5 separate regions of the Homo sapiens genome follow, and regions 1, 2, 3 and 5 are each linked to region 4. Evidence: promoter capture Hi-C in 16 types of primary human blood cells and fetal thymus (Javierre and others, 2016). All regions are on one chromosome and are shown on one strand. Each heading gives the region's core, a stretch centred on a gene start or on the middle of the fragment in contact. The rest is flanking DNA. Distances are from core to core; before and after follow the strand shown. Region 1 overlaps POPDC1 (popeye domain cAMP effector 1). Region 2 holds the start of LIN28B (lin-28 RNA binding posttranscriptional regulator B). Region 3 overlaps POPDC1 (popeye domain cAMP effector 1). Region 4 holds the start of PREP (prolyl endopeptidase). Region 5 holds the start of LIN28B-AS1 (LIN28B antisense RNA 1).

The links. The method cuts DNA at HindIII sites, captures the fragments that hold promoters and counts their contacts. A CHiCAGO score of 5 or more calls a contact.
Region 1: a fragment that was not itself captured here is called in contact with the fragment with the promoter of PREP in region 4 in 5 of 17 cell types (megakaryocytes, endothelial precursors, total B cells and 2 more); the score reaches 11.2 in megakaryocytes.
Region 2: a contact is called between the fragment with the promoter of LIN28B here and the fragment with the promoter of PREP in region 4, in 1 of 17 cell types (fetal thymus). The highest score is 5.9, in fetal thymus.
Region 3: a fragment that was not itself captured here is called in contact with the fragment with the promoter of PREP in region 4 in 1 of 17 cell types (endothelial precursors); the score reaches 5.4 in endothelial precursors.
Region 5: a contact is called between the fragment with the promoter of LIN28B-AS1 here and the fragment with the promoter of PREP in region 4, in 4 of 17 cell types (fetal thymus, erythroblasts, megakaryocytes and 1 more). The highest score is 13.9, in fetal thymus.

The regions. Positions count from the first base shown.
Region 1 is chr6:105,099,547-105,105,092 of GRCh38, reverse strand. It overlaps POPDC1 (popeye domain cAMP effector 1), which reads left to right. Exons shown (of 8, transcript NM_001199563.2): 8 at 3,880-5,546. The coding sequence ends at 4,004. Among named protein-coding and RNA genes, the nearest start is that of POPDC1, 35 kb to the left of the region's middle. The HindIII fragment of the contact is 8,172 bases long and covers 1-5,546 here.
Region 2 is chr6:104,953,754-104,959,263 of GRCh38, reverse strand. It overlaps LIN28B (lin-28 RNA binding posttranscriptional regulator B), which reads right to left and starts at 2,157. Exons shown (of 4, transcript NM_001004317.4): 1 at 2,004-2,157; 2 at 978-1,165. The coding sequence starts at 2,013. RefSeq lists enhancers at 1,269-2,206, 2,207-3,144. The HindIII fragment of the contact is 2,336 bases long and covers 1,784-4,119 here.
Region 3 is chr6:105,115,858-105,120,842 of GRCh38, reverse strand. It overlaps POPDC1 (popeye domain cAMP effector 1), which reads left to right. Exons shown (of 8, transcript NM_001199563.2): 6 at 3,975-4,142. Among named protein-coding and RNA genes, the nearest start is that of POPDC1, 19 kb to the left of the region's middle. The HindIII fragment of the contact is 658 bases long and covers 3,168-3,825 here.
Region 4 is chr6:105,400,014-105,404,951 of GRCh38, reverse strand. PREP (prolyl endopeptidase) reads left to right here and starts at 1,870. Exons shown (of 15, transcript NM_002726.5): 1 at 1,870-2,105. The coding sequence starts at 2,061. RefSeq lists a silencer at 1,593-2,162. The HindIII fragment of the contact is 7,847 bases long and covers 1-4,161 here.
Region 5 is chr6:104,937,282-104,942,950 of GRCh38, reverse strand. It overlaps LIN28B-AS1 (LIN28B antisense RNA 1), which reads left to right and starts at 2,424. Exons shown (of 3, transcript NR_046407.1): 1 at 2,424-2,573; 2 at 2,738-2,773. It also overlaps a transcript of LIN28B not described here. RefSeq lists enhancers at 1,368-2,202, 5,121-5,621, 5,622-5,669. The HindIII fragment of the contact is 11,740 bases long and covers 519-5,669 here.

The sequences.
Region 1 (5,546 bases), core at 2,775-5,274, 300 kb after region 4:
CCCTGGTTTATCCTCCTAGGATGTGTTCTAAGTGGTTCACACCCTGGTAAGAAATAAGCTCATTCATGGCAGCCACCCCTCTCTGTTTTCTTTCACGGATGTCTTTGTTTTAGCTTCTGAATATACAGTAGAAATAATAGTACAGATGTGGTGAGGGTGAATTGCTCTGAAAAGTGCTTTGAGTTTCTGAGAAATAAAATAAGACAGCATGAAAGACTGGGTGTGATTCCTTTTTATTTCCCCAACATTTAACCCATTGTCCTAGCACCTTGTGGTCACTCCCTGATTCCTTTTACTGATTGGATGAAAACATTGTAGCAGGTGATGGTGCTATTAAGCCTATTGATATTCCTTTGAGAGAACGGTGTTCTTGTCCATGCCCTAAGCAGTGTCGAATCAATTCTACAAAAGTGATTTCCTTCAGGGGACATGCTACAAAGTAGAGTGATGACAGTCCCTTTTCCTAATGAGGTTTACTGGACCCTGAGGCCTGCCTGCGCTTGAGGAATGCTGGTGGTGCCCCACTGGGAGACCCGCCAGAAATTAAAGGTGATGTCCATGTCTTTTTCCCTCATCCTCAGGATCCTTTCTGAGGTTCCCTATGTGGCCTTTCAGAGGAGGGATTTTTTCATCACTGTGTACTTAAGGACATTATCAAGGTCCTGACTATGTGTGGAGTAATTCTGTGAGGCTGCAGGAGGAAAGAGGCCTTGGTTACAGCACTCAAGATGCCTGTTTTCTAATAAGGAAGAGATGCAAATGCTATAACCACAATGTTACACAGAATGTGGAAGGGCTGAAGTTATTGAGATGAAGAGGGTAGAATCTTCCCACAGGAGTCATGGAGGGTTACACATGAAGGAGGTGGAGTTTGAATCCTGCTTGAGGAAACAATGGGAATTTGGTGGTTAGAGATGGGAGTGGAGGAACCATTCCAAGTAGAGGGAAAAAAGGCAAGAGGAAAAGAGGAGGATGGGCTGGATTTGAAGAGCAGTGAGTTTGCAAGAGCTTGGACTGGAAGAGGGAGGGAGACCCAACTTGGAGAACCCTGGATGTCACCCTAAGGATTGTGAATCACTCTCATTATCCTTTTAATGTTATATAGTAAGTTCCATAGCTCTTCTTCTGCCCCAGCAAATATGGTGGGAGCAGAATAAATTCTTTCACAGAAAAGCTGAAAGCTCTTGGGAAGTTCTCACTTAACCATTTCCATTTGTGTTGAGTCCTCCCTTCATTTTCTCTCAGTGAAAAAAAATGCAAAGTATAGGTGAGAGAGTTGGGAGGGTCAGATACCATTGTGGCTCCAGAGTATAGATACCTGCCTCAATATAACTGTAGGATGTCCTTCCTGGTATGATAGATGAGCTTAAAAACTAGAAACCAGTTAGTCCTACTTCCTCAGACAGAATAAACTGGGTATGTTTCTGTTAAGCGTGTTACACAATTATGTCTATATACTATATATTATTGACTTGATTTAATGCTCTTAGACATGCCATCTTATTGTTTGTTCTGAGAGTTTTGTCTCATTGTAGATACTCAGCCTAAGTTAATATTTATGAGACCCAATGATAACTTAAGGCTAAAAATATGATGGAAACCAGGGCTTTTTTTTTTTTTTTTAAAGACAATTTTGCCACACTCAAGAGAGCTAAGATTGAGAAACACAAACCCACATTTGAGCACAAGGCCCATTTCCTTTATTGGCCATTCTTATGAGCAATGATGAATTTTAACAAATTTTCTCATTATTAAGTCCATAGCCTTCCAAAGACCATAGTAATTGATTTTTATGTTCTTACAAATATTTACAAAGTGGTTATTACATCCCAGGCACTGATCTAATAACTTTACAAATATCAAGTTGTTTTATCCTTATAACAACCATATGAAATAGGTGCTGTTCTTATTATTCCTATTTTACAGGTAAGGAAATTAAGGCACAAAGAAGTAACTTGTCCAAGGTCGCACAGATAGAATTCATTGCCATTTGAATAGACATTGAAGTAGAGGTTGTGTTTCGTGTGTTTGATGTCACCTGCATGGGAAAGGGGAAGAACTCGCCTGAGAACTTCCCATGCTGTGCCCTGTGCAGAATTGGGTTCTTGGACCATTTTATTAGATGCTTCTTTTCTACAGTTTATGTCAATAGTTGTCATTCAAGAGACTCAGTATTTTTGCTGTAAATGTCTGTAAGTGAACAATTTCCGTATATATACAGCGAGTATACATTAGCTGTACCACAGTCTAGCCCTGCATATTTTTTTATGTTAGAGGATGTGACTGGTGGTAGCATTTCCCCAGATGTACGGCAGTGACTGTACAGTTAATAAGAAATGACATTTAGTCACATGTTCTATAGGCCCAACACCCTGCTAAGTACATCCTATGCATTATTCTGTTTAATCCTCCTAACAATCCCATGGAGCAGATCCTAAGAATATCCCCTTTTTATAGATATGGAAACAGAGGCCTAGAAAGGTATAGTAATTGAGTGCAGGTTGCAGAGTAGGGATTTGAACTCTGGAACTGTTTGCTGAGCCTCTGGTCTTGACCACTCTGCATGCTCCCTCCCCCTGTGCCATACCAGGGGCCAGGAATGACCACTCGTTCATGGCTGAGTGCCAGGGCAAAGCCTTTGCCGCTGTCTCAGCCTCCCTCCAGGAGCAGCCGTGTGACATGCTCATAGCCCTTGGCCCTCCTTGCTGGTTGTGGCATTCTCCCTGTGCTGGCCAACCCAGCTGTCTGCTCCTGACTCCTGCCAGTGAATGACAGCTGATCTTGACAAACTTCTGTGGTCATCTTGTAGCAGATCTGCTTCATGTCTTAATAGATCCTCCACTCGCTTTTGCTGTGAGCATGTATTTAAAGAGCCAGGTTTCACCCGGTATCCCTCCACCATCAACCTTCTCCCCAGCTGAGTTCAGCATTTGTGGGCTGCCGGAATGCCACTCCACCCTGTGATTGGGTAGCGAAGATATGGGTGTGGGCAGAGCAGGTGGAAACCCGGACAACATGGATCCTGACAGTGATGGTGGTGACTGTAAGGAGGGGAGTTTATGCAGTCACGTTAGCTGCTCATTAGGCACCTTGAGAGGCCTTTTGATAATGACTTCTACTCTTACTTTTAGATAGTATTTTCTTCTACATCAAGCATGGTATCCATTATATGGTAGATGCTTGATAACCATTTGGTGAATGCATGAACCAGTGAGTGACTGAATGAATGAATTGCTGCCTGGTTCCTTTGATTAAATGGCATCCTAAAAGGCCCTGGGGTTGCCTTTTCTCCTGCTGCTGCCTGGGATTGCGTTTCCTCTACTTGGCTTGTCCCTCCTGAATGCCTGGCCTTTCTTCCTCTTCCCCTGTCTCCTTTGCGTGTAAGCCCAGTGGGTGGCTGGACTCCATGGTGGAGGCAAGAAATGTTTTAGGTGATATTACAGATGGTGATTAGGTTCCATAATTTTGGAATAGAAGTATTCTTTGGGGAAATTAGGAGTTAAATCAACTTTCAAGGGCTAATATGAGACTCAAGCCCCCATGTATGATATTAATGTAGGAACATGCGTTCTGAGTCCTAAGCAGACTGTGGGGCAAACCCCTGGGAACTGAATATATTTGAGAAGCTCAGATCATCCAAGCACATGCGGTGGAATCTGTCCCTCATCTGTGCTCCTGACTGAGAGTCTCTTCTTGACTTGGTTATTTTATTGAGATGCTGGATTGAAATAGAATGGTTTATGGAAATTGTGTTCTTGGTGCTGCTAGTGATAGATTCCTACAGTTTTATTTTCCAGTTGGAATTTATAATTGATATATCACACCAGGGTCTGGGTAGATTGTGCATTCAGTGGTTTTCCCTCCTGTATCTTTCCACAGATGTGTCATCCCCACACCAGCGAGCCTCTGCCAAGATGAAACCGATAGAAGAAGGAGCAGAAGATGATGATGACGTTTTTGAACCGGCATCTCCAAATACATTGAAAGTCCATCAGCTGCCTTGATCAGAGAGAGAATTCAGGTTACCAAGACGGAAGGTGTCTTGAAGAGATCCTGAAAAATACCAGCACTTTTTCATGGCTTTTAGGTTATTCTGCTTTAGTGCATCCAGACTGGTGGAGTCGGAGGGAGGAAGTGAGGAAGGGTCAAGGATGGAAGAGTTCTTTCACTTACCCTTTTTATTAGTCAGCTTTTAAAGTAATTGTTTTACTGAGCCTTCTGACTATGCCTTGTTCTCTTTTGAGATATATATTTTCACAGTCTTTTCTAGATATATTATTGTTTTAACTTAACAAATCTTAGCAATCTCTCAATGCCTTTTCACTTATTTTTTTCCAAGTTATGATTCTTTTTCCTCACAGTCTTTTTTGTTCCATAGCAATGAGGTTGTCCATTTGATAATTTTAACAAACAATGTAAGTTTAAAATTGAGGCTAAGGTAACATGAAAAAGCAGGGAATCTCAAACTTTATTCCATATATACACACACACACACACACACACACACACACATACATACATACATATATATATATATATACATATATATACATACACACATACATATAATTTTTTTTTTTTTTGAGATGGAGTTTCACTCTGTCGCCCAGGCTGGAGTGTAGTGGCACATTCTCAGCTCACTGCAAACTCCACCTCCTGGATTCACGCCACTCTCCTGCCTCAGCCTCCCGAGTAGCTGGGACTACAGGCACCTGCCACCGCGCCCAGCTAATTTTTTTGTATTTTTAGTAGAGATGGGGTTTCACTGTGTTAGCCAGGATGGTCTCGATCTCCTGACCTCGTGATCCGCCCACCTTGGCCTCCCAGAGTGCTGGGATTACAGGCGTGAGCCACCGCGCCCGGCCTATTCCATATTTTTTTAATGGGACATTTTAGAGAAAGGTGTGATTTGACTGGTTTTATTTTTCTCCCAGGCCAGAAGTATTACTCCACTAGATCACCTTACTTAATTGGGCACTGTGTGGATAACTTGATAATGAACAAAACTCTCAGATTTTACTCACATTACCCTTGTATTATGCCATTTATAAACTGCTCTGAAACCTGAAGCTGGAAAGATAACAGATGGGTTTCTGAGCACGGGGTTAACCTCCAGCTAAACTCAACTTCCTTGGGATTTGGAGTCACCATGTTGTGCACACTCTGGTGTGGGAAACACTTTATGTAGGGTGGGAGGACAGGGGAGTTAAATGGCTGGGCAGGTGCCACAGGATGAGGCCACTGAAAGATCTGCTTCATTCTTTGATCTGTATTCTGAAGTTCCAGATTGTTCATCTAGAGGCAGAGACATCTCTTTTAAAAAAGTGCCAGATGCCCCAGTGCCAGAGCTGCGAACGTGAACACAGTGGAAGGCAGAGGGTTTACTACAGGCCAGGCCATGGACACCCCACCCAGGTACTGCAGTGAGGGCCTTGATTCCAGAGCTCTTTTTCCTACTGAAATCATGGTTTAGTAAACAGTGGCATTTGGCTGGTGGGAAATGCGTAACTGGTCAGTGTGTCTGGCCAGCGTGGCTGTGGCACTTG
Region 2 (5,510 bases), core at 908-3,407, 450 kb after region 4:
TTAGTCGTAAACCTCTTTATTTCTAACTACAGAAAATTTATATTTACCTTTTTTTGAGGAAACAACCGGCTTCCATAAAAGTATCTTTTTTACTATAAAGGGATTAAGCAGTAGAGAGGAGTAAAGGCAGAAGTATTAATTCATTATTTCCTGGGTAAAATTTTGAAAATGGGAAGCAATGAAATTCTGTTTGGTATTAAAACATCTTTAAAAATTACAACACAATACGAGCAAAGGTGGAAATTTACCCCAAGTAGCAGACCAGCACATTTTAAACACACAAGCAAGAGCCGCCTCTGGCCACATGTTTTTTTGAGTTCAGTCTCTTAAAGAGACAGTATACGTAGACCAATGACTACACGGAGCACATTTCTAAAATGTTTATCAAGCATCCCTCTATTGCACGCATTTCTTTACAACCACATTAGGCCAACAGTGTTCTATTTTATTTTACTATGAAGTCAAATTATTTTGATCTGAATCTACAAAATGATTACAGGACAGGCAGCGATGAAATAATAAAGGGAGCTACTGTGACTAGAGGTGTCTAAAATAAGGCAATCTATACATTTCTTTCCACAGCAAACTGTTTCGCTTTGTTTTTTCAACCTTAAAATGATCATGTTTCTTCATTTTTCTACCCATTCACCAGATACAGGCGACAAAGTATATTGTATAGGTAATACCGGAAACAACAAGAACACTATTTCGCTGTAGAATGAAGCAGGGGGAAATGCTAATAACGTCAACCTTAATATATATAGTGAAATTTCAAATATTTTCTTTTCTCTTTAGACAGAAAACCCAGGAAAAGGCCCATACACGTACCCTAAACGTTGGACTACCTAGTGATTTCAGGGAAGATTTTGTCTTTCAATATACCGAAGGACATCTTATCGTACGTCTATTGGCATAACTACCGATCAGCTCCTCCACATGGAAAAAGATGAAGAGGGGGACAAAAAAGTTTGGCTTACTTGGTGTACAAATACATCGACTGGAATATCCAAGGGGCTTCCCTCTCGGTTTATCATGGAGATGAATCCAAATCCCATGCGCACATTGAACCACTTACAGTGGCCAGTTCCGCGCAAAACCTGGGATTCCTCCTCTGCCGGCTCCGGCAGCTTCCCGGGCTCTTCTCCACCACCTTTGCTAGCCCCGCCTGAGAAGGAACAGGACAAAAAAGTCAGTCTGTATTCCCATTCAATGTGCATTCAAAGATTAAAAAAAAAAAATTGCCTGCCTGGGGTTGGGGGGGAAGGGTAACAGAAAAAAAAAATTTTTTTTAATGGTTTGATTTCTTTTCTCCACAGAAAATACTTAAAATGAAAAGGGTTAAAAGGAAAGCGGGGGAGGGGGAAGCCACACTGTTCTATCGATCACACCAACTTCCACGTTTCTATACATACGTGTACTTATTCATTTAACTCCATTTTTCAGCCACATTTTACATTACAGCATGCGATACTTTACTTGTATATTGCTGATTTAATACTGATCCCATTGACAAAGAGAAATTTTCAGCGAAACTATTCTCTCCGGCGGGCACGAGGAGGAAAGAGAAATCGTGAAGATGGTTTAGAGCTACTAGTTAAGGCACATGGGGCAGCACTGAATCCAGCGTTATTTGCAATGTGCATTCCCCTCCCCCCCATAACTTTCAATTAAAGTTGGGGTGGAATGGGGGAGGGGGCAGGTGTATAAAAGTTTTCTTGGAATCACTAACTGAAACTGCGCTTAATCACACTCACACAATTCAAACAATAGCCCCCTGAAAGCTTTTCAAGTTGTGAATCAGTGTGGGCGGTACAAAACATTTTTGGAGATCTATAACAATAGGTTTGCAGAAAGCCCCACTGCGTGATGGGGGGTTGGGAGGTAATGCCCAGTATTGGGGTAAAAGGGGAAGGGGGGGACGGTCTAAGAAGGGTGGGAGAGGGGGAGGGGGAGGAGAAAAGAAGAAAGAAATTCACAGTAAAACAATAGAAAAGAAAATTAACCTTCGGCCATGTTGCCCCACGGGCCCTCAGCTCCAAACTCGTGAGATGAAAACTTTCCCTTTGGAACGGAGTGATCTTCTGCATCAATCTAACATCTTGATTTTGTGCGATCACAAATTTAGCTCGCATGGTCTAATGTGCTTTCCTTCTTTTGATTTTTTTCTCTCCTCTCTCCAGTTTCTGGCCCCCTGAGCACACGTGACTTTGTCAATTACATGCTTTCTTGCTACTAATTTCACCTCGTATCCTTAAGGGGCTGGCAAGAGGAAGAGATAACCAATCGCCATTTCATCTATGCTGACATCAAAATAATTTATGAATGAACACGAAAAACTCAAACATGTTATCTTAAAGACAATTTGGAACGCTTCTTTAGGATAAATCAGAATGCTGATTTCGTGCTTCTACTTAAACACAATGGAGGGACCTTGTGAATCATAGATTTAGAAAAAAAGGCAGTCATATATGTGCACACGCGTGCCTTACACACAAGCCTGACTAAAATCATGGGAGGGGGTCGTTTAAATAAAACAACCGATGTTAACGCTTTTTTTCCCCTTAAGAATTCAGCTATTCCATGGCAGTAAACCTGCTTGGAACGCTAATTTCATATTTAATTCAATTCTTAGAGGAAAATATATAATTTATAAAAGATCTAATTAAACCTAATTACATCCCCATGAAACTTTAGATAATGAAAACATACACCTAGGAAAAGGCAGAGGCACATAAATTACCTGATTATGCCCGAAATTTTTTCAAATTTAAAATAAAATCCTACTAGAAAAATCGTTTTCACCTTCATATAGTCAAATTGTGTTTAGGTAAACCATTTTGGAAAATTTTAGAGGGGGTTGGTAAGGAATTGTACTTCACAGGTTTCTCTGCCATCTCTTTCCGGGGGAGGAGATGTGATTAATGACTTCCTAAATAACAGCCCAGTTTTCCAGCCTAACATAGAGTGAACCTCAATCAGTGGCGATTGTTCCCCAAGAGCTGGAGGACATAGGGCAGGAGGGGGAGGGGATCGCCAGGCAGGGGAGGTGAAGAGGAGCCGCCAGGATAGGCGGCAGCAGAGTCAAAGAAAGAGGTGGGAGAGAAAAAAAGCCGGCGCGGGCAGGGGGTGGGGTGGAGAAAGAAGGACAAGTGGGAGAAAAAAGGTAAATTCATATCATATTGACTTGTACCCTGACATTTTAAAAGTCCACTACCAATGGCTAGAAGAGTTGAATAAACGAAAATGTAACAACGGATGAAGCTCCTACTGTCCTTCCTCAACTGACCCCCAGTTTCAAAATGCCTACCCCCTTTACCTTTCAAACTGGTTCAAACGATTGATTACAAGATGCTGGCAACAGTATTTCTGCCCTTATCGAATACTATAATAAATATTATAGATTAACTAAAAAGACTTTATTTCCTTTAAAATATAAAATATCGCTATTTTAAAACCTTAAAATGCACCACCAGACTTGCCTACCCCACCCCCCATTTTCTTAAACAAGCAGTTTACCAAGAAACTAACTGTTCAGATACCACTTCCTTCGACAAAGCTACCGAGTTGACCCTCCCCCACCATGCCAGCAATCCCCCTCCCAGTCTCTTCAAACACATCCACACTCCAGCACTGTTTCACACAAGCTAAAATGTAGGGATTATGAATCGAAGAGCTATGGAAAAAGCTGTATACACCTATTTATACTCCCTCCCCATATTAAACAACTAAATATAAATTTAATTGGCTCAGATTGGAAAATGGATGTATAAAAAATAGAAGTTATTTTCAGCTGTTTTTGATAAAAGGTTTAATGAAAACTAATCAATTTGGAAAGATTTTTTTTTTTGTCTGTTATTCCTTTTGTTATTTCTCAGGAAAAAGGGCTACTTTCTCATTTTATTTATTTTGGGAGGAATAATCCTGTGCCAGCTGTTAGGGAGAAAAGAAAAGGTGCAAAAATCCAATGACTTTGAAAGTTTAACAAAAGCTCAAAGCTCTGAAAAAATTATTTACTAACAAAACATTTACTAGGCATTATTTTGATGGTAGAAATTACTTCTATTATACTGATTACACTGACAAGAAAGTAATCTCAATGATGGCATTACAGGCTAAGCTTGTGACATAATATGAAATCGAGAAAGTAATTTATATTTTTTCATATTTTAATAATCACTTTAAAAAATCAACATCTGGTATAAGAGGAAAAAAATCTCAGAAAGTATTCATGTAAATTGAGGTGAAATGCTATTACTTACATAAAAGTAATGATCACAAAATTCACAGGCCAGTATAGTTTAGCTTTGTAAAATATTCATTTAAGTTTGCTTTTAATTAGAAAACAGTTTAATCATTATAAAACCAGAAGCATAATAATGTAGGTAGATTCAGAATCTGTTTATTGTTAAATTTGATGAAATTCAAATTTATGAACATGTGGGTGAAAAGTGGAATACCATAACTGAACTACACTGTACAGTATAGTTATGAGATTCACAGTCTTGCCTGATTGGGGGCCTCCAGTATTAGTGGAATTAAGGTAAGGTTCACTGGAGTGGTCACTGGTGTCAGAGGTTATCGACTCATTCATTTCCTGAGAGGGACATCAGCCTTTCAAGTTGTGTAGAAGGCTTTTTCCAACTGGTAACCCTGAAAAATCCTCTAAAATTCGTTCATGAAGAATTTAAGACAAATGCATTTACATACCTTGGGGGAGGGTAAAAGAAAGGGGAAGAGAAGAGGCGAGGGAAGGGTAGAGGGAAAAGGAAGAAGAAAGCAAGGAAGTTGGAAAGGGAGAGAAGTAAAGGAAGGAGACACATTGAGAAACACAAAATAATCACTCACCAATTTAAGAATATGGCACTGTTTTTTCTGTGCCTTCCCCCAAAACTTTTGAGCCTAAAATCCTTTTATAATATAAATTGCCCATAAGCTTTTAAAGCTCCTAGAGTGCTTCTTTCACAGAAAGTCGTCCTATGAGTCTTCTAGAATGCTTTCCAATTTGTCACTTTCCTGAAGTCTTCTGGTTTTAATTTTTTTCTCATTTCCTACTTGGTTTTAGTGCCTGAAAGACCTGTGTTTGACTCAAAAGGGGTGTTTTATTCCTGCAAAAGCCAAATACTTTATAGCTTGACTTATAGTTCTTTCAAAATGTCTTTAAAATGAGTTCAAGTAGCTACAAAGAATCGTCAATGTACTGGGGGGAAAAAGCAAGGAAATAACCTACCATATGCCTGTTGGCTATCACAATCATCCCCATTTAAAAAACAAGGTACACGTTTTCCCAGACTTTTTTTCCAACAGTACAAGGAGCCGAAAGAGGTGCCAGAGCCCACCGTCGTTGTTTTCAATTATAAGGAATGAGTGACTTCTGTTAAAGCAGAAACAATGCTTCGGTTCTTCTTAAAACTAGGAGGAGGGGCTGTGGCAATGCGGCAAGTGACTCCACCCGTCCTCTCCTCCCCGCAAATAAGGCGGGGTCTGTAGCCCAGCGCTGCCATCGCAACCCG
Region 3 (4,985 bases), core at 2,247-4,746, 290 kb after region 4:
CAAAAAGTATTAAATTATTTCCTTAGGACAGTCAGCCAGTCCTATTGCCACACTGCGGTTTCTGATTCTAGCACATGTGGCAGATCCCTCAGAGACCTTTGTTTCCTACGGTGGAGCCCAGTGTCTTCTCTTTATGACAGGCTGTAGAATTGGTTTGGAATCTAAAGGGAGGAACTGATCCAGTACCTTGTGGTAATCACGGCAAACCTGTTTGCAAATGCTTAGTCTAATTCTCGACCTGAAAGATGTCCTTTTATGTATTCTGTTGCCGTATTTGCTTTTATTTCTTCAGTAAAATTCTTCACAAGGACTCAAGCATAGCACTACTGAAATGCCTAATAAGAAGTAAATTTATTTTATGGAAACTTTTAAAATTCTTATATTGCTTTATAAGATATTCTCATAAAAAATACACTTTGCTTGACTGTTGTGACAGGAAATCATTAAATAAACTGTCTATTTGGTAGAAATGAAACATTAGGAATCAAGTAAAATGACCTCAGTCAGCACTCTAACTACTGGCTTCCAACCAAATCCATGTTTTTTTTTTTTTTTTTTTTTTTTTTTTTTTTTTTTTTTTTTTTTGAGACGGAGTCTCGCTCTGTCGCCAGGCTGGAGTGCAGTGGCGGGATCTCGGCTCACTGCAAGCTCCGCCTCCCGGGTTCACGCCATTCTTCCGCCTCAGCCTCCCAAGTAGCTGGGACTACAGGCGCCCGCCACTACGCCCGGCTAATTTTTTGTATTTTTAGTAGAGACGGGGTTTCACCGTTTTAGCCGGGATGGTCTCGATCTCCTGACCTCGTGATCCGCCCGCCTCGGCCTCCCAAAGTGCTGGGATTACAGGCGTGAGCCACCGCGCCCGGCCCAAATCCATGTTTTTATGGGCCTGTAAGTTACTCATATGAACTAAGTACGGCTTATTATTTGAATACTATTATTTTATATTCAATAATAACTTAAACAGGTCGAAAGTAATTTTTTAACCATCAATAAAAAGTGAATTTGCTAAGGAAATTACAGTGTCATTGTAAAAGTTTCATTGCCTCAGTGGAAACTTGAGGTAATTCAGATGGCTGAAGAAAAGTTAACAGCCTTATGTATCATCTAAATATAATTTCTTCATCTCATAGATGATTTCCATCTCCTCTTTTAACTCCTTCACCCACTCTTTTCCAGAGTCCTGGGTGACATCTTTGCACAACGAAGGAACATCAGTCCTAACTGTCTTTAGCACTTAGGTGCATGGCTGGGCCCTCATGAGGACACCATGCTCACTTTTCTGTTATTACTCCAGGAATATTTTTCAGTTGCCTTCCATTTATGCACCCACCTCATACCGTCTGTGGGAATTCCCCAGGGTCAGTTTGCTTATACTCCTCTTCCTGTAAATCTTGCCATGTTTTTGATCCTACTTCTTTATTAGCAGCCTCCTCCACTAGAATGTAGGCTTCATGGCATGTGTTCAGCCTTTCTCTGTATGAGGGGCTCTTGATGGACTGCACAGCCAACCTTGTAGTCACTAGGCAGAAATACTTTCTATGAAATGGTATTGATGAGTATTGGGTGTATTGGGTAGATTTTGACCTGGTGGGAAAATAGATTTGGGCTGAAAGTCAAAAGTGCTCACTTTACCACTACTTTTTTTTTTTTTTTTTTTTGAGAGGGAGTCTCACTCTGTTACCCAGGCTAGAGTGCAGCGGCACGATCTCGGCTCACTGCAACCTCTGCCTCCCAGGTTCAAGGGATTCTTGTGCCTCAGCCTCCTGAATAGCTGGGATTACAGGCGCCTGCCACCATACCCAGCTAATTTTTTTTCTTTTAGTAGAGACAGGGTTTCACCATGTTGGCCCAGGCTGGTCTCGAGCTCCTGGCCTGAAGTGATCGGCCCATCTTAGCCTCCCAAGTAGCTGGGACTGTAGGCACATGCCAGTATGCCCGGCTAATTTTTGTGTGTTTTGTAGAGCCACTCTACCACTAATTAATATGTGTTTGTGAGTTTTTTGGTCCTTCTCATTTGGCATCTGAAAAATGGGGAAGAATATTACTTGTCTTATTTTAAACGGATTTTTGAGGATCCACTTACATGATAGATATGAAAGCACCTTAAAGTTTAAAAGTACATATACAAAGTGAGTGGCATTATGTGCTATTGTCACCCCCAGTCATTCTCGACCACTTTCCCCTGTTCTATAGTTGTCAAAACACTTACTGCCACCTGAAATTGTCATATTTCTTTATTAATTATCATCCTTCTCCACTAGAATGTAAGCTTCATGGGGCAAGCATCTTGTCTTTCTTATTTACCATTGTAACTTCATACCTTGAAGAGTATCTAGCATAAAGTACATGCATAGTAATGTATCGAAAGAATGAATGAAATTTAGTGTTTCATCAAGTCTTAGATGCTGATGCATTTCTTAAAAACAAATACGTTTGGTTTTGGAAATTCCTACTTTTGATATAATAAATAAACACAAGCTTTTTTTCCTAGGAATGTTGACACCACTTTTTAAAGTAGCCAGACATTCTTAATTTGCCAGCAATCAGATTTCAGCTTGTTGAAGTAAGGAGACAAGCTGGGTTTTTCATTTTCTGTCTTGGTAGATGTACATATCCCCTTGTCCTCTGAAATGTGTTTACTTTTGTGACAAAGGGGACAGAGCTTCTTTAGAAACATTTGCTCTGAGGCTCAGATAGGACTGGATGTCAGTTTAATGGACATTGGTTTTTGCCTACTGCGGTATTTGTGTTCATTTGTTTTGTTTTTGTTTTTGAGATGAGGTCTCGCGCTTGTCACCCAGGGGTCTCCTGCTGCCACTGTATGATCGAGTGTAGTGGTGTGATCATGGCTCGCTGCAACCTCGACCTTCCTGGGCTCAGGTGATCCTCCCACCTCAGCCTCCCAAGTAGCTGGGACTACAGGCACATGCCACCATGTCCATCTAATTTGTGTATGTTTTATAGAGCCAGGGTTTTGCCATGTTGTGTGTTCATTTGCTTAAGTCCTTCATACAACAGTCATGCATTAAGCACCACTCCATGTTGGAAGTCAGGCATTCAGACAGACGTGAAGATACACAATCCCTGCCTTCACAGTGCTTGGAACAGGCAGATGTGTCAGCTGATGAGCTTGGATTTAATGATAGGATTTAAGCCATAATGAAGCTTGCAGTTGTGTTAACTGATGGAAGTGTTAACATGGGAAGAAGGGCTTCCTGGCACTGAATGGTGAGGGCATGGCCCCTCACTCTGGCAAAGGGATTTATTTGAGGGATACTTGAGCTCTGTTTCGTGCAGTTATAGTACCTTTCTGCTTTCCTACATACAATACTGAAGGAAAGGGGGTATGATTTCCAGCTCTGAGCTAATTTGGGGATGTCTGTGAATATCTCTAATGGGCTACCCTGGATCTAACCTTGAAATGTGACACTCGAGAAACACCTATGACAGAAGGACCCTCACCAGCCGTATTCATCAGCAACAGCCGAGGGCCCTTGAAGTTTTCTCAGTCTTTAGTGTATATTTGCAGAGATGGATGGGCAGAAGGTCTTTCACAACTTGCCTCATGAATCTTAGTTCATCTGCTTGAAGCTGTATTTTTGAACTTCATTGTAATGTACAGGGTGTAAAGAAATATTTCATGTAAGTCATATGTCCAGTGGCATCCTCAGTTGAATACATGCTCCAGCAGCGGTATCAATACAGTGGCCATTCTTCTGTCACCAGACCTCACAAAACAAAACAACAAGGAAACACAGAGAATTTGCTTTTATTTAGTCTGCAGATTGCTTTTTTAAAAAACATAATTTTATACGTGTAGAAGCTTGTGTGCATTGAGTCTCCTTTTTTTTATAATTTGACAAATCATTGCTATGATAATGTCCACTAAATCATTCCTAGTTTTCTAAATCACTATAGTCATAATTCATATACATAGATGTACTTTATTCTTTGCATGCTTGTTTCTTTGGCAGGTCACCATTATTGCAGATGATAACTGCAGATTTTTATGCTGGTCAAGAGAAAGATTAACATACTTTCTGGAATCAGAACCTTTCTTGTATGAAATCTTTAGGTATCTTATTGGAAAAGACATCACAAATAAGCTCTACTCATTGAATGATCCCACCTTAAATGATAAAGTAAGTGTTCTCTGAGTTTATTTTGTTAAATAAATATGTATATGAGGTATATTTCACTTTATGAAATATGTTTTCCTGAATTTTTAGTAACTAGCCATATGTTAAATGTACTGGGGATACTTGTAATCTTGAGAGGAGAAAGTATTTTGTAATGATTAGATTTGCTGTTACTTAGTAAGGAGTCTACAATTGTCAGGGACTAGCATTTATGGTGATAAGGCACCCTCTTCATCAAGAGCATTTTAAGGAAGATGGTAAAGGAGTAAGAGGGGGTGGAGGATGGAGTAAGTTAGGGAGGACAGGGCAGCTGGAGGTTTGCAGACAGAGAAAGGCTGACAGACCCCAGCGATCAGGAAGTTGGCCTTTGAACCCTGCTGTCTTCCAGTCTTGCATATCTTCAGGTCAGGCGAGAAAGTGAAAGGAGAGGTGTAGAGCTGCATAGATCTTCAGCAATTTGCAATTTGATCTTAATTTTCCCGTATCTTTTTAGAAAGAAATTAAAATGATTACAAGAGAGAATTTTTAAAAACGTCGTTTCTGTGATAAGTACTGTTACCCAGTGACAATTGAGTATATGTGCCCTTTCAAAATCATCTTATCTGGACTGTTTATCAAATTAAGCTGGTGCTTATTTCAGTTAATTATTTAGCTTATTATAAATAGGCTACTAAGTATATTTGATTTTGTATAATATATTTATAGTAATAGCTAATAATAAAAATCATAGCTTATGTTTATTGGCCACCTAATATGTATCAGGTATTCTTTTTTTTAAATGCACTAACGTATTTCTAGGAAAAGTACATGCTGCTTAAATGGAATGTATGATTCAACTCCCATAAT
Region 4 (4,938 bases), core at 621-3,120:
AGGGGAAAGGGTGCTCTCCCATCTTCCCTCCCACTCCATCTCACTCCAGATGCAGACAACCTACTGCTGGGAGCCTCTTGCACTGTCTGTGCCACTACAAACCTTTACCTCTCAGGGCCCAGAGGAACTGGGCACCAGAACGGCTGACTGAAAGGGAAGAGAGGATGATACCTAGGTTTGATTTGTCCTTTGGGTACCACAATTCCCACATTTTCTTTAGGTCCTGCTAAATTGAAGTTTTCCCTGCAAATGGGTGCCCTGTAGACTCTAGAGTATCTCTACTTATTTATGAGTAGGAAGGCCGTCAGAGTGGTTAAGAATGAGCATTGGTATTGGAGAGACCTAGGTTGGAATCCTGGCTCTACTTTTTCACTTTTTGTGAAGTCCTGGGCAAAAGTCAGCCCGTTTTCCTTAACTATAAAATAGGGACATTAGTTCTAGATAGTTTCCTGATACACTGAAAAAAACACTCCATAAGCATTAATATTATCATTAGGGGGTCTGCTGGGTCAAGTGCTCCTGGGTTGCTCTTTAAAAAATCCCTCACAGTGGCAGAAGGAGGAGACAATGCCTGCCAGTCCCTGCGTCAGGTGACAGCCAGGGAAGGCACGAGGTGGGAACTGGAATTGGGACTTCTGGGCTGTAGTGGGCTATGCCCCCGTGTTTGCACAAAGTTTGTTATCAATAGCGTGAGTTCTCCCAGAATTGAGGATTCTCAGATTGCCCCAGGAGGGGGTATCTGGGATCAGATGCAGAAAATGATTATGACACATCACTATGAACAGAAATGGTGAACTAAGGGTGAGGCATGGAATTGGGACCATATCACAAAAGAGACGGAGGACACAAGTTTATAATAGTTACCATATCCACTTAGATTCCGGAGGTGAAGGACTTTCTGGTCACACCTATTCTTTCTTCCAGGACTTTTTGGAAGCCAGGGATAGAAAACACACTGGGCACACACTATACCCCTGATGGCTGGGGCTATAAAGTCTCTTCTGGGTGGTCCAGGAAGCAAGACCAGAACACATACCGCTGCTGGCCCGAGGATGATGACATGTAACTATTAAATTTTCATGGGTTTGAGGTCAAGTATCTTGTCTATTATCTTTTCTTCCCATAAACAGTAGGTGCTCAATAAACAAGCATGACAGCAGGAGAGGAAATGAGGAAAAGGCAGGATAAATAAAATACCCCTGATGAGTTCCAGGCCTCTTAATCTTGGTTCTTTCTCAATCGGTAAATATCAAATAAGGGCTCAACCGTAGTCCTGCCAACACCTCCAAAGCATCTCCATAGTCCGGATGCTAAACCACCCAGTGTCCACCAGGGGTCCTGGGATGAAGGGAGACGTGTTTCTTTCACGGTCATCATGATCGATTACTTCTTCCCTTCAAGTCCAGAGTCGCAGGCAGTGGACATAAGGCCACCTCCAGCCCTCTGCTTCCAAGGCTGGGGAGAGGCAAGGTCTCCCTTCGCCGCCGTAACCAGCCCGGGAACAGGAAGGCTGGGGAAGGTGGGGGACTCCATCAGCAAGGAAACCCTGGGGCTTCACTCTCCTACAGGCGGTCCTGCGAGCGCGGCCAAAGAGAGGCAGGGCGCTAGGGAAGGCGCGGGGACCCGGCCTCGGTGGAAGGACTTGTCCCCGGCGCAGAGGACGGGCGGGCGGCCGGGCGTGGGCGAGCGCGTAGCCGGCGTGCTCCTCCGTGCGCCCGGGCGGCGCGGGCGCGGCCGGCGATCCTGCAGAGGGAGCTGTGCGCCGGCCTTAGCGCACGCTCGGTGCCGCCCGCTCCCTCTTGCCGCCGCCGCCGCCGCTGGGCCCGCCCGCCGGGGAGGGGCTCCCGGCCTCGCAGACAGCGGCTTCCTGCTTTCTGCACGTCCTCGCCGCCGCGCCGCCAGTCCGTTTGTGCTAGCTCTGGCCGTGAGCCGGCCGCCCGCTGCCGCCGGCCGCCCCGCAGCTGCCTGCGCCCCAGCCGCGCCTCGCGGCCAGCCCGGCTAGCTCAGGTCCGCTCCCGGAGCCCGCGCCCCTCCACGCTGCCCCCTGCCTGTCCCCGGCCATGCTGTCCCTTCAGTACCCCGACGTGTACCGCGACGAGACCGCCGTAAGTATCTCTGCCTCCGCCCAGAGGGCTCCCGGGCAAAGGTGCCCAGCCTGCCTGACCCGTGGCACCCGCAGCTCCTCTTCCTGTAGGCCTTCGACCCCCGCGTCCCTCCCCTCCCCCTCGGCCTTTGTTTGGGAGAATTGGGCCGGGGGCGCGGGGCTCCTCTGCAGCGCTGGGGTCCCGCGGGCGGTCACTCTGCTAGTGCTGGCGGCGGAGCCTGTGGGCAGCGCCGCCCGGCCGCTTCCTAGAATCAATGGGGTCAAGGGCAGACGCCCGGGTAGAATGGGTGTCTTCAGGGAGTGGGAAGACAGACGGTGTCACTGCTTTTTTGACTGGCGAAGCCTCTTGCTTAAATATGGTGGTAGGAGAAAGTGTCCGCTGGGGTGTGTGTGTGTGTTTGTGTGTGTGTGTGTGTGTGTGTGTGTGTGATGTCACATTTAAAAACGAAAACAAACTTTTAAAACTTACACTTTAAAGTCCTTAGAGTTGAAGCATATTCGTTCGATTTTAAAAGGTGTGTTGAGCGCCTACCCTGTCCCAGGTCGGATGAGGCGCACTGGGCCCTGGGGATGCCAGAGACCCGGACAGAAATGGGGAAGGCGGAGCAGTGACCCCATAGTGTGGCCGTGCTGATCCATGTTTTCTTAAACAAGAAAAGGAGTTGAGAGAGGGTGAGAGGAGGTCTTAGAAGGGAGAGGGGTTGACCTTTTTCAGAATGAGTAAGTTTTGTCTAGTGGCGGAGTTGACCACCATTTGCCTAAGCTGCAGATGAACTCAAGGTAACTGTTGAGATCCAGTAGGCGGAATTCTGGGCAGACACCTTTTTTGTGTAAACGTGAATTTGACGACTTAGGAACTGGATTGCATCCACATGTTGTGGCCGTGATTCTCTTACTAATAGCTACATTTCTCAGATTACTTAAAATATAATCAGAATAAGTATGTATTTGTGTGATACAGTTTTAATGTTTTTCTGTTTACTTTCCCAATTTATGCCAGAAAGTGTTTACTTTAAAGCACGTGCTACATTGGGGTAAAGGGTGCTGACGCTTCGGAGTAAAGGACATACTGTTTTAAATTAAGACTTCCAAGTGACACTGATGCATTCATTCATGGTTTCTTTGACCAGTGGCCATCTGGTAACCATGTTTTCTCAGTCTGCTCAGCTGCTTGCTTATTAAATTTACCCTAACAGCTCAAGAAGCTCTATTCCTGTGGTTTAAAGGTTGTTTCCTTTGAATATGGGAGTAAAGTGATCCTGCTGGAATGGAGAAAGAGGCTGGACTAAATGAAAAGACCAGAGCGCTAGTTCTGGTTCTGTCATTCACTAGTTAGGTGACTTTTAGCAGCTCTTTTACCTGTTATGGGCCTTTTTTCTCATATGAGAAATATTTGGACTGACCATAGGGCTTACTTGCTTCTGCAGTAGGAATGTTGTCATTCATTCATTCATTCATGTGACAGTCTAGCTCTGCAGTGTTCCAGACTAGTAATGGGAAGCCAGGTGACTCTCTTGGTTCTGGTTCTTGAGGATCAGAATATAAAGAATTACCCATTCTGTGGTTTGATAAGTGCAGTTTTAAGTTTGTTTTTAGAGTTACTTGTTAGTTTTTCACCACTGTGGGTGCCTAAATCCTACAGTTTGTTTATTTATGTTTGATATTTCATGAAAGGTTTAAGTGAGGATTTTATGAAGACGTCTAAAAGATTATAAACAACTCGGAAGGGTATACTGTGGATTTTAATACACTCCAGTTCCTTCTCATTAAGCAACTCATGCTAACTCTAAGCCTCGTGGCCAAGGGAATGTAGCTCTGGCCCAGTCTGGATCTTGTTGTGTGGCTCCTTGATAGCTTACGGTGGAGTATCTTTTTTTTTGCATTAAGGTTTTGGTTACTAAGCCCTAGGCTTGACTTAGGTATTTGCTTAAATGGTAGCCTTTGATTTCTAGGATGGGTTTGTTTCTCCCCAGCATCAGCTGGGCATTGCGGTAGCTCTCTGTCTCTTTCACTTGAGCACCTTCAGCCATATGCTCAGTACTCTCCTGCTGAAAGCTTTGGAGCGTTGAGACCATTTTGGTGGAGTTCTGCCTTTTTGGGCAGAAATTTGGAAGCCATGACACTTCTTGTGCAATACCATCGACCATTGCTTAAGAGAGTTGCTATCAGGAAATTCAGGCCTGTCACAGGGGACTCACACTCTGATAGAAGAGGATTTAGGGTGAGAGGAGAACACAGAAGAGGATGGGACTAATTTCCATCAGGAGGGGGAGGCATTATGTGAATTGAGTCTGGAAGTTGACCAGTTGGGTAAGGGACAAAGGACATTCCTGATCCTGTGACTAAAGTAAAGCCATAGCTATGCAGGCCTGGATTGTTGTGGAATTGCATTTGTTTGTAGGGTGGCAAGAAGGCGATTCTGACCAGACCATCAACAGATGGATAAATTTGCATGGGGCTGGAAAGATGAGCAGGGCAGGTTTGATGGGTCCTGCCTGCTGTGTGTACGAGTCTGCACTTTATCCTGAAGGCAGTGGGTGAGTTGTTGAACAGTACAAGTAAAATATCGAACAGGATTAAGTAGTACAGTACCTTATCAGGGCTCTATTTTTAAAGCTTCTTGAGGAGATCAAGAATGATTAGCAAACTTAAATCAGGTGGAAGAATTTGATTCAAGGGAAGTGGCTATAAGACACATCCACCTCATTTGTAGGGTATGGTCTTAGAAAAAATTGGAGGTGGAAAGTTGTGGCTCCTGGGATTAACTCTGGAATTGTCCTGGAGAGAATGTTTCTTGTCCTAGTTAAAAATATCTGATCAATAACTTCCATCTG
Region 5 (5,669 bases), core at 1,175-3,674, 460 kb after region 4:
TAATGAGAATATAATTATTGAATCATTTAGTTCCAGATCTATTGAGAAGCACCTATAAAGTTACCAAAAACCAATATGCATTACAACCCGATCCAATTCCTTAAATTTTTATGACCTTATATTGTAAAGCAAAGATTAGCTGATCCTACTTGTAAAATGGAAAAGTCAAATAAAACTTTTTTATTCATTGGTAGAAGAGGCCTTGTGTCAGTTTCATTTCTAAAGCTCTGTAGGAAATTAAGCACACTGGATTGCTGTGTTTCATACATGCAAAGATAAATAATTTGGCAGGCAAGAACCTTCCCTAAGATGGACAAGGGTGTAATTATTATTGAAAATGGAATACTGATTATTACATTCTCTTCTGTTAATTTATCATATGACTCCTCTATAAAATCTATGCAAATTCACAGCAGAAGAAAAAAAGGCATAAATTTCATAGCAAATTTATTTTTTCATACAAATTGGCATATATTTCCAAGAATTCACCCTTAACTTTCAAATCTTCCCTGAAAGCTTTCATAAAACTGTGATGTTTTATACTTATTGTTGGACGTAAAAATGTGCTTTTTAAAAAAGCACTTTTGCATTATCTAAGTAAATATGGTAATAACCAGCACCAAAAAAAGAAACATTAATATTTTCTTGATTAAAAATCACTTTAAGTCATATTTTCCCAGCAATGTTGTAAAACGTTTTAAATTCATTCTAATACTAGTTGTCAGGTGTAATTTTCACTTCCACAGTATTTGTGATCGATAAATAAAAAACTACAATAGAATAGGAGTATAATTTATTTTCCCCTTGCATTAACAATAATAGGTATAAAAATCTACAGTGGAGAATTTAGTTCCATGAACAGTGACACTTGGCAACCTTAAAAACCTACGGATGAAAACAAACCCACAAAGAACTGAAGGGAACTCAAGGAAACACAGGCACCTAAGATTTCATTCTGTGTTACATGAAACAATTCAAAATGGCGGACTTACTATTACTTACATTTAAGAAATTTCCGCAATAAGGGCACTAAATACATACTGTTAGATTTTACTCGAAAACACTCAATATTTACCAACGTGCAATTTTTAAAAAAAGTTTTTGGAGTACAAATCTTCACAAAGCACCCGCATCCAATGTTCCAGTCAGTAGTCAGTTAATGCTCCTGCAAACGTATCATTTCCTCTTTGGTTTTTCCTTTTCAAAAACAACCTAAATCCAAGTGCGTTCTTCCCCGTTCTTTTCAAAATCCTTAATTTTAATTCATGAATTTACATCACCGATACCAAAGCAAAAACGATCCCCGACGCCTGCCCGGTACAAAGCAGTTCGGCTTGCGGAGCGCGAAAGGGAGGTGCGCACGCCCTCTGGCGGCGCGGCCCCGTGCGTCCCAGACGAGCCGGCACCGGCCGCGAGGACCCGCCGCCGGGACCCCAGCCTGCGCCGCACCCTCGCGCCCTGCGCCCCCGCGTGGCCTGCGCCCCCGCCCTGCCCCGCCCCGCCCTCCCGCTCCAAGCCGGCTTTGGCCGCCCGGCAGCAACCGCAGCGGCGAGCCTGGGCGGCCGCTGTGGCAACGCAGTGCCCACACCGGGCGCCGACCCAGCAGCACCGAGCGGGGAGAGAAAGGTGTGAACCCGGAAGTACATCGACTGCCCGCGTCTTAGCGGCAGCACCGGGGCAATAAATCAGGGCCGGCGAAGGAAAGACGCGGCGCGCCGGCTTCCGAACCGCAACTTGCTGCGAGACCTGTCACTTCCCCGCGGTGCCCAGTCCTCGCCCCTCCCTGGCGCTCGCGCCTCCTCTTTTCTTCCTGCTCCTCAGCACGGAGCTCCCCTCGACGTTGCTCACGTGCCAGACTCGGGACCGCGAGCGGCGTCCGCACCCGCACGCACACCCGGCCACGCTCGCACTCGCGCGGCCGCGGGGCCGGCTGCTTACCTCCGGGGCCTCATGGTCGCGTCGCTAGCCTGGGTGTGAGAGGGGGAGAGGGTGTGAGGACGTGTGTGGCGTTCAGTCCCGAAGGACGGGGCGGAGGAAGGGGCCTGGAGTCTGTCACTTCCTGAGGGAGCGCGGAGGTCGAGAGACCTGTGAGGCGCGCGGCGGGGCCGGGAGGGTCAGCACATTGTGAGCCGGCAAGGGGACGCGGAACAGCCGGGCGGCGCGCGGCCACCGGGCACGGAATCCGCTGTCGCCACCACTCCGCCGCCGCAGCCCGGCGAGTGGCGGGGCGCGGGGAGGAGGGGGCTGAGCCGGGTGGGGGAGCGCGGGGCGCGGCGGCGGCACCAGGCGGTTCGACTGGAGCCCTGCGTCAGCCGGCGGCACGCGCACACCTGCCCGCCGCCGCTACCGGCCGCGTCATTGGCTGCCGGCGCCGAGCGCGCGAGATTGAACCTTCCATTCATTCCAGGGCCGGGCGGGCGAGCGCGGCCGCGGTGGAGCTTTACCGCGGGCGCCCCCGAACCCCCGAAGCGCGTCCCCGCGCAGGCCGTGGGCGCGCACGGCCGCTGCCGCCGTTTGTTCTGGTGGAGGCTGCGAGTGCCTGGGCCTGTGACTCCCGGCTCTCCGCGCGCAGCGTCAGTCTGGGAGGGAAGCTCACATGGCGGTCCCTAGGGTGCGACTGGAGGGAGGCGGGACGATGCTACTCCTTGCTCCCCAACCTGACACCTTGGTGCGGTAAAACTGTAAGAAGGTAACAAAATCATATCTGAAGCCCAGGTCTTCTTTTCTTTTACTACAGATGCCCTGGACATCATTCCGAACAGCACAATTCAAGGTAATAATAGTCATGTATTTCAGAATCCAGTGAGCATGGTAGACAATGCCAGAAGTTTGGGGAACCTACTGTCAGCTGTTTCTTTTCCTAAACAATAAGATACTCAACGTCAAATTGGATGATACAAACTTAATCATCATCACTCAAAGAGCCACAAGATCTGGGGCCAAAAATACTGTGATATATACACATATTTAGCTTGGTATTTTGGTATATGTTCCCAAAATATCACTGCTTTCTCTCCTATAATTTTCTACCTGATAATTTTATAGTTCTTTCTTATACTTTGGGTAGTTTCTCATCAGACTTTCAGAACTAAACAGTACTAGTCAATCATTATCTGACCAGCTAAAAAATCGAATATCGCCTTGTAATCTGGACTGTTCTGTGGAACTGACTAAAGGGATTAAATATTTCAGCAAACTAAAAATTTGTTCAAAAATTTAAAATATAGGAAATCAAATTAAAAGTGGAAAACTTTTCAAATGAAAACACTTTCATTTGAAAGTAACTAATAAAGGCCAGTTCACTGGCTACTATTGTATGACTAAAAGGCAAATCTCCAAACCGTTGCTGTGTGATGATACATTTCTCCCTTCCAATTTCTGGATTGGGATTAAGAAACCAATGTATCTATCAAGGGTAACCACAGTCTAGAAAAAAGCATCTCTGGCCTGGGAGTGAGATCAATGCAGACAAACTGATCAGAAGCAAAATCCTGTTGTGACCCCTCCTAAGAATTTTCCACATTGGCTACCACCTTCAGCAAATTCCCTGGATGGCTGCTCAACTTTCCATTGAGCTAGTGGAGTGAATACCACTTACTTTAAAGATGCCTTTTCACTGGCAAGTATGTAAAGTATTTCTTACATTACTTTGCGAAGTAGTACAGAGGATTCTTTCAGATACAATTCTTAGTTATAATCATTGTATCAATTTACACTATGATTTCAAATATAATTTAGAGGAAAAAGATGTGGACATTGATTACTAGAAATGAAAAACAGCAATTAATTATATCACCATCTGAAATGTGATATGCTTTGACTTTAAAGCATTATAGTAATTTTTTATTTATGAGTAGAGCTTACAAATGCACTTACAGAATGAACTGTTTTTTTTAATAGCTATGTTTCTAGGTATTTTGTAAGCCTTTCAGCATTTAAGTGTGATGTATATTTATGCAATACCTATTTAAAGTCCTGAGAAGAATTGTAAACAGAAAATAAAAAATTAAAACACAACCCAGGGTTAGTATCCCAGCACTCAAGAGTTCATCCTTTTTTTTGATTTCAAACTAGTTATCATCATGCCATCATGCTCCTGTGACACAAATAAAAAATGGGACATTATAATATTTAATGTATTATTTCATATAAGGTACCCGAAAGGGGCGATGATGAACATTGATAGGCTAAGCATTAAGGAGTATGTTAGCATGATTAGAAATGAATGAAAAGCCATAAGAACAAAGGAATTTATCATTTACGTATGGCTCTTGGCAATTTCTTTTTCTTTTCAGGTTTTTTTTTTTTTCTTGAGACAGGGTCTCACTATGTCCCCCAGGCTTGAGTGCAGTAGTGCAATCTTGGCTCACTGCAGCCTCCACCTTCTGGGTTCACGGGATTCTCGTGCCTCAGTCTCCTAAGTAGCTGGGATTACAGGCCTGCTCTACCACACGCAGCTAATTTTTGTATTTTTAGTAAAGATGGGGTTTCACCATGTTGCCCACGCTGGTCTCAAACTCCTGGCCTCAAGCAGTCTGCCCACCTGGCCCTTCAAAGTGCTGGGATTACAGGCGTGATCCACCATGCCTGACCTTGGCAATTTCCTTCTAAAAGTGAACCTTGGCAATTTCTTTATAAAAGTGAATCCCTCTACCTGGGACCATGGTCATAATTTATTTTACCTTATTTCCAACCTCCCCTTTTTTAGAGACTCGGTCTCACTCTGTTGCCAAGGCTGGTGTACAATAGTACCTTCCTAGCTACTGCAGCTTCGACCTCCTGGGCACAAGTGAGAATCCATCTTCAACCTCCTGAGTGGCTGGGACTACAAGCGCCTAATTTTTTTGTTTTTTTTGGTTTTTTTCTGCCTAATTTTTTTTTTTTTTTTTTTTTTTTTTTTGTAGAGACAGGTTCTTGCTCTGTTGCCCAGGCTATTCTCAGACTTCTGGTGGCAAGATATCCTTGCAGTCTTGGCCTCCCAAAGCACTGGGATTACAGGCATGAACCACCATGCTTGGCCTGCTTTACTTTTAGAATATATCTAATAATTATTCCCAAAGAGAACAGGCTCTTACTCTTAATATCTCCAATGCCTACAACGGTTCCTAGAATATGGTAGTGTGTAAGAAATGCTTTTTAATGAATGCATCTGAATGCACCCTGATTATATTTTCAAGGAAATACTTACCAAGACCTTTAGAAAACATAAAATACAGTGTTTCATATTTCTCTTGCCCTCTATTTTTTTATGAGTGGAGTGTATGAAAGCAAACCCCAGGCATCACGTCATTTTACTTACGAATTACAAGTATTGAGTGTTACAATGTTGAAAAACTAGGCTTTTATATTTATTATACTACATTAAAACAATTTGAAAAATAGAGTTGGCCAGGCGCGGTGGTTCACGCCTGTAATCCCAGCACTTTGGGAGGCCGAGGCGGGCAGATCACTTGAGCCCAGGAGTTGGAGACCAGACTGACCAGCATGGTGAAACCGTCTCTACAAAAAATCAGGCAGGCTTGGTGGCGGGCGCCTGTAGTCCCAGCTGCTGGTACTCAGCAGACAGCCGGGAGGCGGAGGTTGCAGCGAGCCGAGACTGCGGCCCTGCACCCCAGCCTGGGCAAAATGGTCACCGCGTCTCTACAAAATACTAGCTGGGCGTGGTGGCG